4 separate regions of the Homo sapiens genome follow, and regions 2, 3 and 4 are each linked to region 1. Evidence: promoter capture Hi-C in 16 types of primary human blood cells and fetal thymus (Javierre and others, 2016). All regions are on one chromosome and are shown on one strand. The core of a region is centred on a gene start or on the middle of the fragment in contact, and the rest is flanking DNA. Distances in the headings are between cores, read along the strand shown. Region 1 holds the start of GAS7 (growth arrest specific 7). Region 2 overlaps GLP2R (glucagon like peptide 2 receptor). Region 3 overlaps GLP2R (glucagon like peptide 2 receptor). Region 4 overlaps GAS7 (growth arrest specific 7).

What was found. Contacts are between HindIII fragments. The CHiCAGO score rates a contact against its expected background, and 5 or more counts as called.
Region 2: a fragment that was not itself captured here is called in contact with the fragment with the promoter of GAS7 in region 1 in 1 of 17 cell types (M0 macrophages); the score reaches 5.1 in M0 macrophages.
Region 3: a contact is called between a fragment that was not itself captured here and the fragment with the promoter of GAS7 in region 1, in 1 of 17 cell types (M0 macrophages). The highest score is 6.3, in M0 macrophages.
Region 4: a fragment that was not itself captured here is called in contact with the fragment with the promoter of GAS7 in region 1 in 6 of 17 cell types (neutrophils, monocytes, M2 macrophages and 3 more); the score reaches 18.2 in neutrophils.

The regions. Positions count from the first base shown.
Region 1 is chr17:10,197,030-10,200,518 of GRCh38, reverse strand. It overlaps GAS7 (growth arrest specific 7), which reads left to right and starts at 1,913. Exons shown (of 14, transcript NM_201433.2): 1 at 1,913-2,311. The coding sequence starts at 2,129. The HindIII fragment of the contact is 8,346 bases long and covers 924-3,489 here.
Region 2 is chr17:9,870,814-9,874,302 of GRCh38, reverse strand. It overlaps GLP2R (glucagon like peptide 2 receptor), which reads right to left. Exons shown (of 13, transcript NM_004246.3): 10 at 3,468-3,489. Among named protein-coding and RNA genes, the nearest start is that of RCVRN, 33 kb to the left of the region's middle. The HindIII fragment of the contact is 3,580 bases long and covers 1-3,489 here.
Region 3 is chr17:9,886,928-9,890,416 of GRCh38, reverse strand. It overlaps GLP2R (glucagon like peptide 2 receptor), which reads right to left. Exons shown (of 13, transcript NM_004246.3): 12 at 2,444-2,485; 13 at 1-1,047. The coding sequence ends at 712. Among named protein-coding and RNA genes, the nearest start is that of RCVRN, 17 kb to the left of the region's middle. The HindIII fragment of the contact is 765 bases long and covers 1,404-2,168 here.
Region 4 is chr17:9,932,390-9,935,878 of GRCh38, reverse strand. GAS7 (growth arrest specific 7) reads left to right here. Exons shown (of 14, transcript NM_201433.2): 9 at 1,635-1,713. Among named protein-coding and RNA genes, the nearest start is that of RCVRN, 29 kb to the right of the region's middle. The HindIII fragment of the contact is 9,972 bases long and covers 1-3,489 here.

The DNA of each region.
Region 1 (3,489 bases), core at 664-3,163:
AAGGGACTCTTAGTGGTGACTGTGGTCAAGAGTTTGTTTCTTTATATTTCCGGCCAAGCGAATGTTCAAGACTTTGCAATTGATGGACTATTACAAATAATCTGCTTGTGTCACTTTGCCCATGGCCAGAGAACAGATGGAGGCTGCTCAGGTGAGATGGCTTAGCTGCAGACTAGGGCTCAGTAGTGACTCTTAAAACCTGGGCATGAGTATTTTTAAAAAGTTGCATAATGACTGTAATGTGCAGCCAGGATTGAGAACCATTGAACTAGGTGAAAGGCTCTGTGCCAGGGTCTGATTCAAAGCATAGACAGGTGCGCAAGATCTTCAGGCTCTTGGAGCCCGGCCTGACTGGTTTTGTAATGGATATCTAGGCAGTCATAGTAAGAGGTGAAGCTAGAGGAGGCGTTGTGGAGGGCCTGAAATGTACAGGCAGAGAAGTTTGTACCAAATTTAAAAGGCAATAGGGAGCCACAGAAGGTGACTGGGGGAGGGGGGAAGGAGTAGACAGAGGTATACAGGCGTATTAAAGGGTCCAGCTTTTTTTTTTTTTGAGACGGAGTTTCACCCTTGTTACCCAGGCTGGAATGCAGTGGTATGATCTCCGCCCACTGCAACTTCCACCTCCCGGGTTCAAGCCATTCTCCTGCCTCAGCCTCCTGAGTAGCTGGGATTACAGGCACCCGCCACCACGCCCGGCTAATTTTTGTATTTTTAGTGGAGATGGGGTTTCACCTTGTTGGCCAGGCTGGTCTTGAACTCCTGACCTCAAGTGAGCCATTCGCCTCAGCCTCCCAAAGTGCTGGGATTACAGGCGTGAGCCACCGCGCCTGGCCGAGTCCAGCTATTTACAGGCTAAAAAATGTACTTTATTTTATTTCTTTAAAATTTTTTATGGAGTAGACTAGCAAAGAAACCAAGCTTTCTTTTACTTCTGTACGGTCAGTTCAAGGTCAACATTCTGCAGCACTCAGGTTCACTGGTCCCTGGAGAGCAGGGACTGGCCCAAATGATGTTTGTAGTACCTGGCACATCGCATGGAACATGGCAGCCTCCTGGTAATGTTTGTTGACTGACTACATGAGTGTAGACTCTTTAGCCAACCCATCTCGATTTCGGGAGGGCTGGTACCCTGGGCCGGCCTTCCCTCTGCAAGTAAAAGCATTGGTGCTGTTCCTCTCACCGTTCGCCTTTCCTCCATTTATCCCCATCGACTGTTTCCAATTCTATCAACTCCGACCCCGTCTTCTCTCCATTCCGTCCCTCCAGCGTGCCACGCTGCCACCAGGCTGCTGGGCTCAGGCGCCAGGCTTCAAACCTGTCTTTCACCCATTGTTCAGTTTCCGGTGAGACAAGTTCAACCCCAGGTTCAACCACTACAATGACAACCACAAACGATCCCTCGCAGACACCTCGAAGAAGCCGCCCGCACGCCACGGGCCGCCAGGCCTACAAAGCAGGCACAGAACAGAGGGGCGTTTCCATTCCCGCGGTCCCCGGCGGTGGGGGCGCGAGTGGGAGCCCCTCTCCCCAGTGACAGGCCCCTCTGCGAGGGAGCGCGCAGCCCTCCGCGGGCGTGGCCGCCCTGGCCCCGCCCCGGCCCGCCCCCTCGCCAGTGAGCTAACCCCCGCCCGGCCACCCGGCCGCCAGCTCCTCTCCACGGCCGCCCGCCGCGGAGTCCTGCCGCGGGGGATGCTCCGGGTCCCACCTCCCGGGGGAGCTGCGCATTTCCGCGCGCCAGGGCGGCCCCGGCCCCGGTCCCGGCCCCGGCCCCGGCCAGCCCTCGCGGCGGCAGCCCGCGTTCCGCGTTCCCGGGAAGTTGTCTCCGGAGCCCGCGGCGCCTGGGTCTCCTCCCCCTGAGCCCCGCCCCCCAGCCCAGAGCTAGGATCCGCGAGCTGCCCGGCCCGGGGGCGTCGCCGCTCGCTCTGCGAAGCCAACGAGTCTCTGCTTCCCGGCGCGGAGCGCGCGTCCCCCGCCTGCCTGAGGACCCCCGCGCACCCCAGAGACGGCGCGCGCCCAGAGCGCGGGAGCCCGGAGCGCCGGGCGCCTGGGACCCCGCGGAGCCGCTGCCCAGCCCGTGGGGCTCGGCGGGAATGCAGGCTGCGCTGTGAACCCGGGCGCCAAGGCCATGTCCGGCGCTCGCTGCCGGACCCTGTACCCCTTCTCCGGGGAGCGGCACGGCCAGGGGCTGCGCTTCGCCGCGGGCGAGCTGATCACGCTGCTGCAGGTCCCGGACGGCGGCTGGTGGGAAGGCGAGAAGGAGGACGGGCTCCGTGGCTGGTTCCCGGCGAGCTACGTGCAGTTGCTGGAGGTAAGGGGCGAGGGCCGGGGCTGTAGGAGCCGGGGCTGCGGTCCTCGGTGCGCTCGCGTACCTGTTGCCCGTTCCGGGGATGCCGCAGCGTCCCGGTCGGAGGGGCGCCCCGGGGGGCAGCCCTTGCCGGCGCTACCTGTAGCTCCACGCTCCTGGGGGGCAGCGACGGCAGCGGGCGCCCCTCGGGGCGTGGGCAACGCGGACTCGCGGGGAGCTTCCACCTTGCGCCGGGCCTCCGGAGCACACCGTGGCTGCTCTGAGGAAGCGAGAACTTGTTGCCTGTGTGAGTTAAGGAGCAGGCGGGAGCGTTCCCGGCAGTGGCAGGGGCCGGTGAAGGGTCTGGCGGTCTTGGGAAGAGGCACGGAGGATCAGGGGTGCGAGAAAGTGGCACCGACTCGGTCCCGCAGCCCCGCGTCTCCACCCCGGAGTCTAGAGCCTGATGACCCGTGGACGGTCGTGCTGCCTTGGGTCAGGCTGCCTGGCCGCCTCGGGACCACCCACTTGCTGGTCAGCCGAGCCTGCTGGCCACCAGCCCGAGCCCCCTCAGCAGGCTTGATCCTGGGGTGCCGTAGCACCCCCCGCCACTGCCTGCTCCCCTGGTCCAGCTCCCCGAGGCTAAGGCTCAGAACCCGAAAGTGGCTTGTTCCTGGGGTTCTGGCCTGGCCCCAGGGCTGCACAGGACCTGCTGAGGCAAGGCGGCTGGCTGTTTATTGTCTATGTGACAGGCTGTCCTCTAATCACTGAGCTCGCAGTCACAGCCTGAGTGAGACCCGAAGTTTCTAAAGTCCTTTGTGTGTGGGGGGGTGACCTTCCAGGACATCCCCTTTACTAGAAGCCCGCCTGCCCCCAGGATTCTTGTAAAGACTAAATTAACAGTTACCTTCAATGGTGTCAGTATTCCTAAACATTCTGGTAAAACACTGCCGGAAGAAATCATGGAGGCTGAATTTATTTATTATTTAACTCTTGACCTACTTCACAGAGAAAGTAGCAAATTTTGACTGAGAATGCTCAGTGCAATTCATCGGGGGCGGGGGGAAGAAAGAAAGAAGTGAAATGGTTACAGGGTGAGTCCGCCTGAGGATGTATCCTGTGGCAACATTGTCAGCAAGAGCCTGGCCTTATAAAAGTACATTAGATTGCTTTCAGGTCCAGAGAACAACAAAATCTCTCCTAAA
Region 2 (3,489 bases), core at 486-2,985, 330 kb after region 1:
TATGTCAGGCAGGGTTGCTCTTTCTCCCCACAAAGCAGTCACCCTGGATCATCGCTCAGCCATGAGGGTCTCCCCAGTATCTTGATTTACCCTTTCCTAGACCAATGGCTCCTGGTGGGTACGCACCCTCCAGGGCTATGCCGGGCAATCTATTTGATATTGGAAGAAAATATTATAATAGAGGATAATAGGCATTGTATATATATTAATTTTTATCTGTCCTCTTAAATTTTCTATTTTTTGGTCTATCTTATAATACATATATTAGCTCATGATACCATGCATATACATGAGGAGGGATGTGCTCAGAATTTCTTTACTGACAGAGATGTGTGATCAGAAAAGTCTGAAAACTCTAGAGGGGACTCTGGAAAAGAGAACATTGAGGCTGCATGACATTTATAATGGCCCGACCAGAATATTCCACTGAGAACGTCCTCCCTCTGTGGTTTCCCTGCCATTTTCGTTGGCCACCTTTCTGTTTACTAGTTCTTTCTGCAGAGTGCAATAGAGTTGATTAACTAATGCTTATTCATTAGCATGTGTTCTTTCAATAGAACATCTGGCCCAGCAGTCCTCCACACTGGCTGTGTATCAGAATCTCCTGGGAGACTCTGCAGCAGGGGTATCCAACCTTTTGGCTTCCCTGAGCCCCGTTGGAAGAAGAAGAGTTGTCCTGGGCCCCATGTAAAATAAACTAACACTAACAATAGCTGATGAGCTAAAAAAAAAAAAAAAAAAAAAAAGTCCATGCATAGTTTTTGTGATATCCACCACAACGGATAAGCAAAAATGTCCTTCCATTCAAAGGGTTGGACACGGCTGCTCTGTGAGGTTCTATCCCGCATTTATGGAGTCAGAATACCCAGTGGTAGGGCTCACAAGGCTGCACTTCTGGCCAGCTGTCCGGGGATGCTGATGAGGAGCTATGATGAAAAACTATTTAGGGGTTGCTGTGGGTCTTGGGCATGGCGAAGGTGCCAGTGGCCCGTGATAGGCTTTGGGGGCACAAAGCAGCAGTGTGTCAGCTCTGAGTCCCTTTGGGGTCAACTGCACCATTTCTGTCTCCTGGAAACACTAGCCTCTGTCCACTTTCTGGGGCACCCTGGTTTTCCTGGCACCTGTTTATTGAGAGAACTCTCCTCCCTGAGTGCACCCAGCAGGGTGGACTAGAGCAGGCTTTGAAGCTCCACCCTGAAAGAGTGGTGAGAGAGGCTAAGCCTTTGGGAAGGGAGCCAGAGAGACTGCTTGGCCACTTGGAGCCTCGACTGGAGGCGCCAAGAGAGACAGCGTGGCTCCCTGGAGCCCAGGCCAGGCCGGCTCCCCAGGGCTACGGGTTTCTTGCAAAATGTTTGGACCAAAGCTCCAACTAGCAACTATAGTATGTCTGCCCATTATTGAACCGGGTATGTTTACCCTTCTAGACCTCCTAGAGGGAGGGTAGAGTGGCCACCCATATTTATAACCATATCTACAGACTCCTTGAATCCTCATAATAAGCAGGAGATGAGTCTGCAGTGACACTCCCATTTTTACACACCAGAAAGCAGGCCAAAGGGGCCAAGGCACTTGCCTAAGGCCAGTAGGCAAGTCTAGGGTCGTGGCCAGCTCCCTCCGTTCCACCTCCTGCTCCATGCCAACATCCTAGTCCTTAGCAAAGTAGAATGCATGCTCCTCAAATGCAGGGTCTACATCGTGTACACCGTTTTTTGTTTGTTTGTTTTTGAGATGGAGTTTTGCTCTTGTCACCCAGGCCGGAGTACAATGGCACGATCTCGGCTTACTGCAACCTCCGCCTCCCGAATTCAAGTGATTCTCCTGCCTCAGCCTCCTGAGTAGCTGGGATTACAGGCACACACCACCACACCCAGCTAATTTTTGTATTTTTAGTAGAGACAGGGTTTTGCCATGTTGGCCAGGCTAGTCTTGAACTCCTGACCTCAGGTGATATGCCCACCTTGGCCTCCCAAAGTACTGGGATTACAGGCGTGAGTCACCGAACCTGGCCTCATGTCCACCTTTTATTCCAAGCACAGTACCAGGCACATTGTAGGCATCTATTAAATATTTGTCAGATAAAAGGAAAAACTCCCTTCCCAGCACCTGGGTGAGGCCTTATAAAGGGGAGAGAAACAGGGCTAGGGCCATCTTCACTCGTGCCCACCTCTTCTGCCTTCCTGTGTGGACTGAAATTCCTACTCTTAGAGCTACTCTGTGGGTTAAAACACTCCCGTTCCAGAGCCCTGCTGAATGCATATGCCACATAGAAAGCAAAGAATAGGCCACGTGTGGTGGCTCACGCCTGTAATCCCAGCACTTTGGGAGGCCAAGGCTAGTGGATCATGAGGTCAGGAGTTTGAGATCAGCCTGGCCAACATGGTGAAACTCTGTCTCTACTAAAAATACAAAAATTAGCCGGACGTGGTGGCAGGTGCCTGTAATCCCAGCTACTCAGGAGGCTGAGGCAGGAGAATGGCTTGAATCTGGGAGGTGGAGGTTGCAGCGAGCTGAGATCATGCCATTGCACTCCAGCCTGGGCGACAAGAGCAAGACTCTGTCAAAAAAAAAAAAAAAAAAAAAAGAAAGAAAGTAAAGAATAACTAGGAAAAGAGGGAGGAAACCCTTTATCTCTCTTCATTCATTCATTTGCTTTTACAACAATGCAGATCTAATAAATACCTATGATCTGACTGACTATGAATGAGGACTGCTGTCATCTCAGAAAGAGGAAGGTGAGATGCAGCGACAACAAGTCACAATTAAAGGATGCCTGTGGAAGGATGTCTTTCCTTAGACCCTAAAAGTTTGTGGTCTCATTTCTCAAGGTCTCAAAAACACCCAAATAATCTCTTCTCTTCAAATCCTTCCCCAAGGAAGGCAACTGCCAAACTTCTCTTCAAACAAGACTGTCCTTTTCCCACAACCACCCATTCTTAGAAACTTTTTTTTTTTTTTTTTTGAGACAGGGTCACCCAGGCTGGAGTGCAGTGGCACAATCATGGCTCACTGCAGCCTCGACCTTCTGGGCTCAAGCAAGCCCCTCACCTTAGCCTGGGACTACAGGCATGCACCACGCCTGGCTAACTTTTGTATTTTTGGTAGAAACGGGGTTTCACCATGTTGTCCAGGCTGTTCTCAAACTCATGGCCTCAAGTAATCCTCTTGTCCCAGCCTCCCAAAGTCCTGGGATTACAGGTCTGAGACATCACTCCTGCCCTCTTAGGGGCATTTTAACAGTTTTCTGCTGGGGGATGTGAATGCCCTTGACTACTCACCATTTGCTTCATCGTCATAGAAGGTCCTCACCATTGACAAAAGCCTCACTTGATCCTATAGCACCTTCCCAGAACTGCTCTTTCTGATACCCTGGCCTTAGGAGATAAATGTCCTTCCCAAGACAGCGGGCAGAACAGCCAGAGTACTTACAATAACCTTGGACTGCTGGGGACCAACCTTAAGCCACTCACCTGTATTTATAATCTCTGAAGC
Region 3 (3,489 bases), core at 537-3,036, 310 kb after region 1:
AAGACTTGATAGGAGAGGAAGAGCAGAGAGGAGTGGCACTCTGGTGGGTGGAGTTACATACTCTCCAAGGAGGGCAGGCACACCCCAGCTGACCTGGGAGAGCAGACTGTCTCTTGCAGCATCCTGCCATGGCCACATGGGGGCGCTTCTAGCTCCCTCTCACCCTGCCCAGTGTTCTCCAAGGGTGGGCTTGCAGCAGAATTACCTGGGATGCTTATTAAACAGCTCCAATTCCTGGCCATGGTCCCAGACTCACTGTCTTAGAATCTTAGCCACAAGTCTAGGATTCTGCATTTTAAAAGCTTCCTAGGAGGTTTTCACGCACCCTAAACCCAACCTCAGATGGAAAGCATGCACCCCAAGGGATAAAGGAAGAGATATTGGCTGGCTTCTCTATAACAGGAGACCTCTCTTCATGGTGGGACTTCATTGGCTTGAATTTAGAGCCAGGCCCTAGGGTCTGGTGGGCATTGTGGAAAACACACTGGTGGGGGTTATTAGGATGAGAAGAGCAGGCAGAGGCTGTGAGCATGACACACAGCCTCTTTCATACAGAGCTTGAAGAACCTTGTGATAGCTTTCATATCAAAGTGGCATGGTGAATGGAACGAGAATGATTCCGTGCCCAGCAACGTGTGTCCTGCTTTGCTTCCTCTTCCTGGGCCCCCTCAAGAGTCCCTGGGAGCAGAGCCAGGGTGGTGGAACTCCACCCTAGATCTCACTCTCTTCCAGAATCTCCTCCATGGTGTTGGCCATGGTGACATCCCCCTCACTGCACTCGGACAGGCTGCTGCCCCGGGGCCAGCGTGCATGGTCCTGTTGGGGCTGGGCGCCCAGCTCCCCAAGACCTCGCATGGCTAGATGTAGGAGCCGCCCACTGTTAAGTGAGGGCTGCAGCTTCCGAAGCTTCTCAGCGCCATCTCCTTCCGAGAGCTTCTTGGGACATTTTCCTAGGAACCGGAAGTCCTTCCCCAGGACACAGGCTCTGCAGCCTGAGTGGCGGGCTAGCAAGAAGCGGACCCAGTATTTCCGCAGCTCAGCCTTCACCTGCCGGGTGAGACAAGTGAGAGGTTACTGTCTTGGAGTCATTTAGCCATGTGTCCATTTAGCAAATATTAATTGAGTAGCTACTCTGTGCCACCCTTGGGAAATTTACCTTTTAACTGGGGGAGACAAGGAGAAACAAAGATACATAAACATGTCTGGTGGTGATGACACTGTGAGAGTACTAAGCAGGACAATACGGTAAAGAAACAAAAACTTAAGACAGGGTGTTCAGGAAAGGACTCTGCCGGGGTGGCATGTGAGCTGAAACCTGCTTGATAGGTGAGGAGCCCCCTGCATGAAGATACAGAAGAAGCAGCAGTGAGCAAAACAGAAGATGGTTTTGCTGTCAAGAAGCTTACATAGAATGTGAGCTATGTACATTCTATGTAAGTGGAAGTACATAATGGGAGGAGACAGAAATAAATATTTACACTTGTAGTAGGGCGAGAGGAGGTTGAAAAGGGGTTGGAAACTCTACCAACTCCTAAAGACAGGAGAAAACACCTGTTCTGGCCTCTGCCCCTCCCACTGTCAAATCTTTTCCCAGGGAAGCAGAGAGCTGGTTGGGCTATGCAATAATATGAATAACTAAAAGCAATAATAGGCCAGGCTTCATGGTTCATGCCTGTAATCCCAGCACTCTGGGAGGCTGAAGCAGGTGGATTACTTGAGATCAGGAGTTTGAGACCAGCCTGGCCAACATGGTGAAACCCCATCTCTACTAAAAATATAAAAATTAGCTGAGTGTGGTGGTGGGCACCTGTAATCCCAGCTACTCAGGAGGCTGAGGCATGAGAATCGCTTGAATCTGGGAGGCAGAGGTTGCAGTGAGCTGGTATCATGCCACTGCATTCCAGCCTGGGCAACAGAGTGAGACTCTGTCTCAAAAAAATAAAAATAATTTTTAAAAAAATGTAATCATAGTTCCCAGGTGTTGAGCATTTATTTGCTATGTGCTCAGCATACCCAGAGCAAGACTACAAAGCAGGGATGATTGTTGCTCCCATGTTACTGATGAGGAAAGTGAGGCTAAACAAAGTGCGGTGACCCAGCTAACTCACAGAACTCCTGAGGGTGAACCAAGGCGTGAATTCAGATTTTTGGACTCTGAGGTTCAAGCTTGTTTCCTCTGTCACATTTGAATACTCCTTGCATCTCCAGCAGAGCCAGTGCTGGCTTCTGAACTCCCTTATACCCATCCCGACACCTTTTTTCCATTTGTCTAAGCTGCCTCCTGCTCTCTGTACCGGAAGCTCACAATACAAATTTGTCCCCACACATGCTGGTCACTGCACATTCTCCCGTAGCATCATCCCATCCACAGAAACCTCCAGAGGTGGGTAGGGTTGCAGTCCCAACCTCACATGAAACCAGGATGGCAACGTGGAAATCATACCTCTCCATTGGCAAAACCATACTGCAAGGCCACCAGGAACCCCTGAAACAAAAGGAGGACATGGCATAAAATCTGACTCCGGAGAAGATGTGTCTGAGAGTTACTGGCAACGTCCAAAGCCCTGCACAGGTCGTAAGGAGTCTCCAGAAGAGGCGTGCAACTGCATTGCTTACACTAACTAGAATTAGTCATACTGGTTACATTAACTTGGATTTCCATGGCATCTGTTCTTACTTTGACATCCAGCGCCCCGCCCGCCCTGCTCCGCCTATATCAGCCTAGGTGTTTGCTTAGATTGTTCACAGGTGCACATGGGTCAATGATGATTAAACCCCCAAGACCTTGTGTCATTCATTCAATTATACAAATATTGGGCAAGGTCACTGTTGCATCTCTACTTGGTCATAGTGGGCACTGGCTAATGTTTGTTTATTTGTTTGTTTGTTAGAGATGGAGTTTCACTCTTGTCGCCAGGCTAGAGTGCAGTGGCTCAACCTCGGCTCACTGCAACCTCCGCCTCCCGAGTTCAAGCATTCTCCTGTCTCAGCCTCCCAAGTAGCTGGAATTACAGGCGGACGCCACCACGCCCGACTAATTTTTTGTATTTTTAGTACAGACGGGGTTTCACCATGTTGGGCAGGCTGGTCTCAAACTCCTGACCTCAGGTGACCCGCCTGCCTTGGCTCCCAAAGTACAGGGATTACAGGCATGAGCCACTGTGCCTGGTCCTTTTTTTTTTTTCTTTGCCTGACTTGCATCCTTTCCTTTTGGCCCCTGACCCTCCCTACTCTCTGAGCTTCTGGCAGGGCTGTCAGTCATGTGGTTCCCATGTTCCAGGATGACCATCGCCACAATACTCAGCCCAAAATGGGCTGGAATCTAAGGTGCTCCAGTTAATGCTTGTTTCCATTGTCTTTCTCAGGCTCCTACATATCCTGATTTGTCAGATAGTCACTGTGATCACCTACATGTCCTGGCTGTCCCTAATTGATGTAAGGGTCTGTGGAATTTGGGCAGTGTGTCTGATATATTGGAACTGGATGTGT
Region 4 (3,489 bases), core at 291-2,790, 260 kb after region 1:
GTGGAGTGCCCCAGTACAGCTTCCTGGATCTCAGGCCCTTCAGGCAGAGACAATTGTCAACAGCTTGGATTGCCCCGTTTCATACTCCAGTGCTTCTCTGGTGGCTTCCCCTGCCAGGATCACTGAGGGGACCTTTCTTTGCTGCTAGACTCCTAGATAAAATCAGGCAGTCATTTCCCATAAACACCCACCTCGGCCTGAGCCTGCGCCACCACCACACAGGGCTGGCCAGCCATCAGAGGGATCTGCTGTGCACTGTTGGGCAATTCTTCGCTGCTGGCTGCTCTGCTCCAGACCCAGAAGCCTCACCACATGCTGTCTTTTATTCAGCTTTTGCCACTCGACTTTAATGAATTCTCTGGGGGAAGTGGCTTTTGGATGATATTAAGTCAACAGAACATTCAGCCTGGATTTACTGGCTGTGTTGAAGAGGCTGGGAGCAAGAAAGCGGGGGTATCACTTGGAAGGGTCATGCGGTTAAAGAGCTCCAAATCATAGAGAATGTAGCCTGGGGCCTGCATTGGCAAGTCTTAGGGACTTCAGGAGATTTCTTCTACGTGAAGCCTCTCCTTGGAGTGGAGAAGTGATGCTGCTAAGAGGACTTGGCCCTTCTCTAGTAAGCTGTGGGCAGCATCAGGGCTCACAGCTAGAGAAGCAGTGCTAGAGGAGACCGTGCTTCCTAGGATGGCCGTGGGAGCCTTCTCTGCCCTGTGGCTGCATCTAGGTCACTAGACCCACACAGTCCATCTTCCCCACTCCTGGAAGCCAAGGAGCTGGGTTTTTCCTATAAGCAGCGCTGTGTGATACCTGCTGTTTGAAAAGAGCTTCTCCGGCTGGGCATGGTGGCTTATGCCTGTAATCCCAGTACTTTGGGAGGCCGAGGTAACCCCTCCCTGCAGCTGCTCTCAGTTGGTCAGGAGTTCGAGACCGGCCTGGCCAACATGGCAAAACCCCGTCTCTACTAAAAATATAAAAATTAGCCGGATGTGGTGGCACACGCCTGTAATCCCAGCTACTCGGGAGGCTGAGACAGGAGAATCGCTTGAACCCAGGAGGCAGAGGTTGCCATGAGCCAAGATCGCGCCATTGTACTCCAGCCTAGGCGACAGAGCAAGACTGTCTCAAGGAACAAACTAATAAACAAATGAAAAGAGCTTCTCCCTGGAATAGAACCTGTTTTCCTTCCTTGATTTATTAGCAGATGCTTGCACCCCTCATCAGCAAACCAGGGAGGGGTGATGTGAAAGCTCTGGGGACAGTGACGGCCCAGGGGTCAAGGCCCTCACTGCAGCTGAGGCTTTGGAATGTCCCCACACCTGCTTCCGGCACCTTCCTGGGTCCTTTCGAGCCTCTGGATTTCTAGGAATCCCCACCCCCCCCACCTCTTGGCTGTGCGCCACAGTCTGTTTCCTTAGCTCCAGAGGTAAGGTGAGCTCACTTGGACCTTGGTGGCTCATCTGACTCTGTGAGTTGAAACGTGATGCTCATGTCTGGTTTCTGCCTGACTTCTGCCTCATCCGCGTCCACATTCTCAGCTGTCATATACCTCCCCGAGACCTGGGGTGGAGCCCCACCATCCTGCCTCAGGAAGGGCTTTGGCTTGTGACCTGAGTCTCATGGTCTTTGTGTTGCAGCTCCTTGGGAGAGGCGTGGGCCCAGGTGAAGAAGAGCCTGGCGGACGAAGCAGAAGTTCACCTCAAGTTCTCTGCCAAGGTAACCCCTCCCTGCAGCCACCCTCAGTTGGTCTTACACACTGGGGTACTAAAAAATAGTTAACAACTGTCTCTCCAGTTTGCCGTTTGCCATTTTCCCTGGTGTAAACTTCAGGCTATCAACATGAAGTCACGGAATACGGAGTTGGGAAGAGATATCTGCCCAGTGGCTCACCATGAGGTGGTGCATTTTTGTATAGACACAGTAGCACAAATAACCATCAATATCCACCAAGAGCATGGAAAATAGTAAAGTGTAGTTAGGAGGTGGTAAGTGCTAGGTATTTATTGCCTTTGTTTTTTATGTTTTGTTATTTTTAAAAAGACAAGGTCTCACTGTGTTGCCCAGGCTGGAGTGCAGTGACATGATCATAGCTCACTGCAGCCTCAGCCTCCTGGGCTCAAACGATTCTCCCACCTCAGCCTCCCAAGTAGCTGGGACAACAGGTGTATGCAACCATGCCTGGGTAATTTTTTTATTTATTTGTAGAGATGGGGTCTCGCTATTTTCCCCAGGCTGGTCTTGAACCTCCTGGCTTCAAGCAGTCTTCCTGCCTCTACCTCCCAAAATGCTGGGATCACAGACATGAGCCACTATACCTGGCCTATTACCTTCGTTTTTAATATAATTTTTATTCAATTATAAGTTCATATCATTTCCTTTTTGATAATGGCCGTGTTTAACAACCAGCAAACAGAATTCCTGAAAATTTAACATTCAGCTCTTGGGAGCCACTGGGAGCAGGCCTTAGCACACCTGCCCAGTTTCTCAGGGCAGCCCCTGAGTGACGAAGCCCTGCTTTCTTTTTGCCTGGCTTTCAAAGGGATGGAGTAGGATGTCCTGTCTCTTCCTAGTGTCAGGGAACATTAGGTTATGCCAAAGGGAGAATTTTTTTTAAATTTGTGGTTGTTGCAAAATTTCAGAACAAGTAAAGGGTCCTTCTTTATTTATTTATTCATTTATTTATTGATTGATTTATTGATTTATTGATTTTGAGACAGAGTCTTGCTTTGTCGCCCAGGCTGGAGTGCAGTGGTGCGATCTCAGCTCACTGCAAGCTCCGCCTCCCGGGTTCAAGTGATTCTCCTGCCTCAGCCTCCCGAGTAGCTGGGACTACAGGCGCCTGCCACCACACCCAGCTAATTTTTTGTATTTTTAGTAGAGATGGGGTTTCACCGTGTTGGCCAGGCTGGTGTTGAACTCCTCACCTCATGATCCACCCTCCTCCGCCTCCCAAAGTGCTAGGATTATAGGCGTGAGCCACCACTCCCGACCATAAAGCATCCCTCTTTCATTTAATTCTGAAGATACTAGTGCCAGGACTCGAGGGCAGGGTGTTTCTGTCCTATTCCCATCCTCAGGGCTCAGGATGGTGTCTTGCATGTAGTAGATGCTTAATAAATATTTTCTTATTGAGTCATGAATGAACAGAGCCCTCTGACTATCTCCACCCCACCCCCAGTCTTTTCAGGTCTGCTTTCTCTCAAGATTTCTCCATGTTTCCAAGTGACTCTCCCTTCCCCACTCCCTGGCACATACCTCCAGGTTTTCTCTCCGACTCTCAGCTAATTTTTAGATGAAAAATAAACTAAATCTCTCAGTGAAGTAATCCACTCTAAAGTGTACATGATTGGTGGGGCTACCCATTAACAGGCTTGCCTTTTAAAGAAAGGGGCCAGGCGTGGTGGCTCACGCCTGTAATCCCAGCACTTTGAGAGGCTGAGGTGGGTGGATCATGAGATCATGAGATCGAGACCATCCTGGCCAACATGGTGA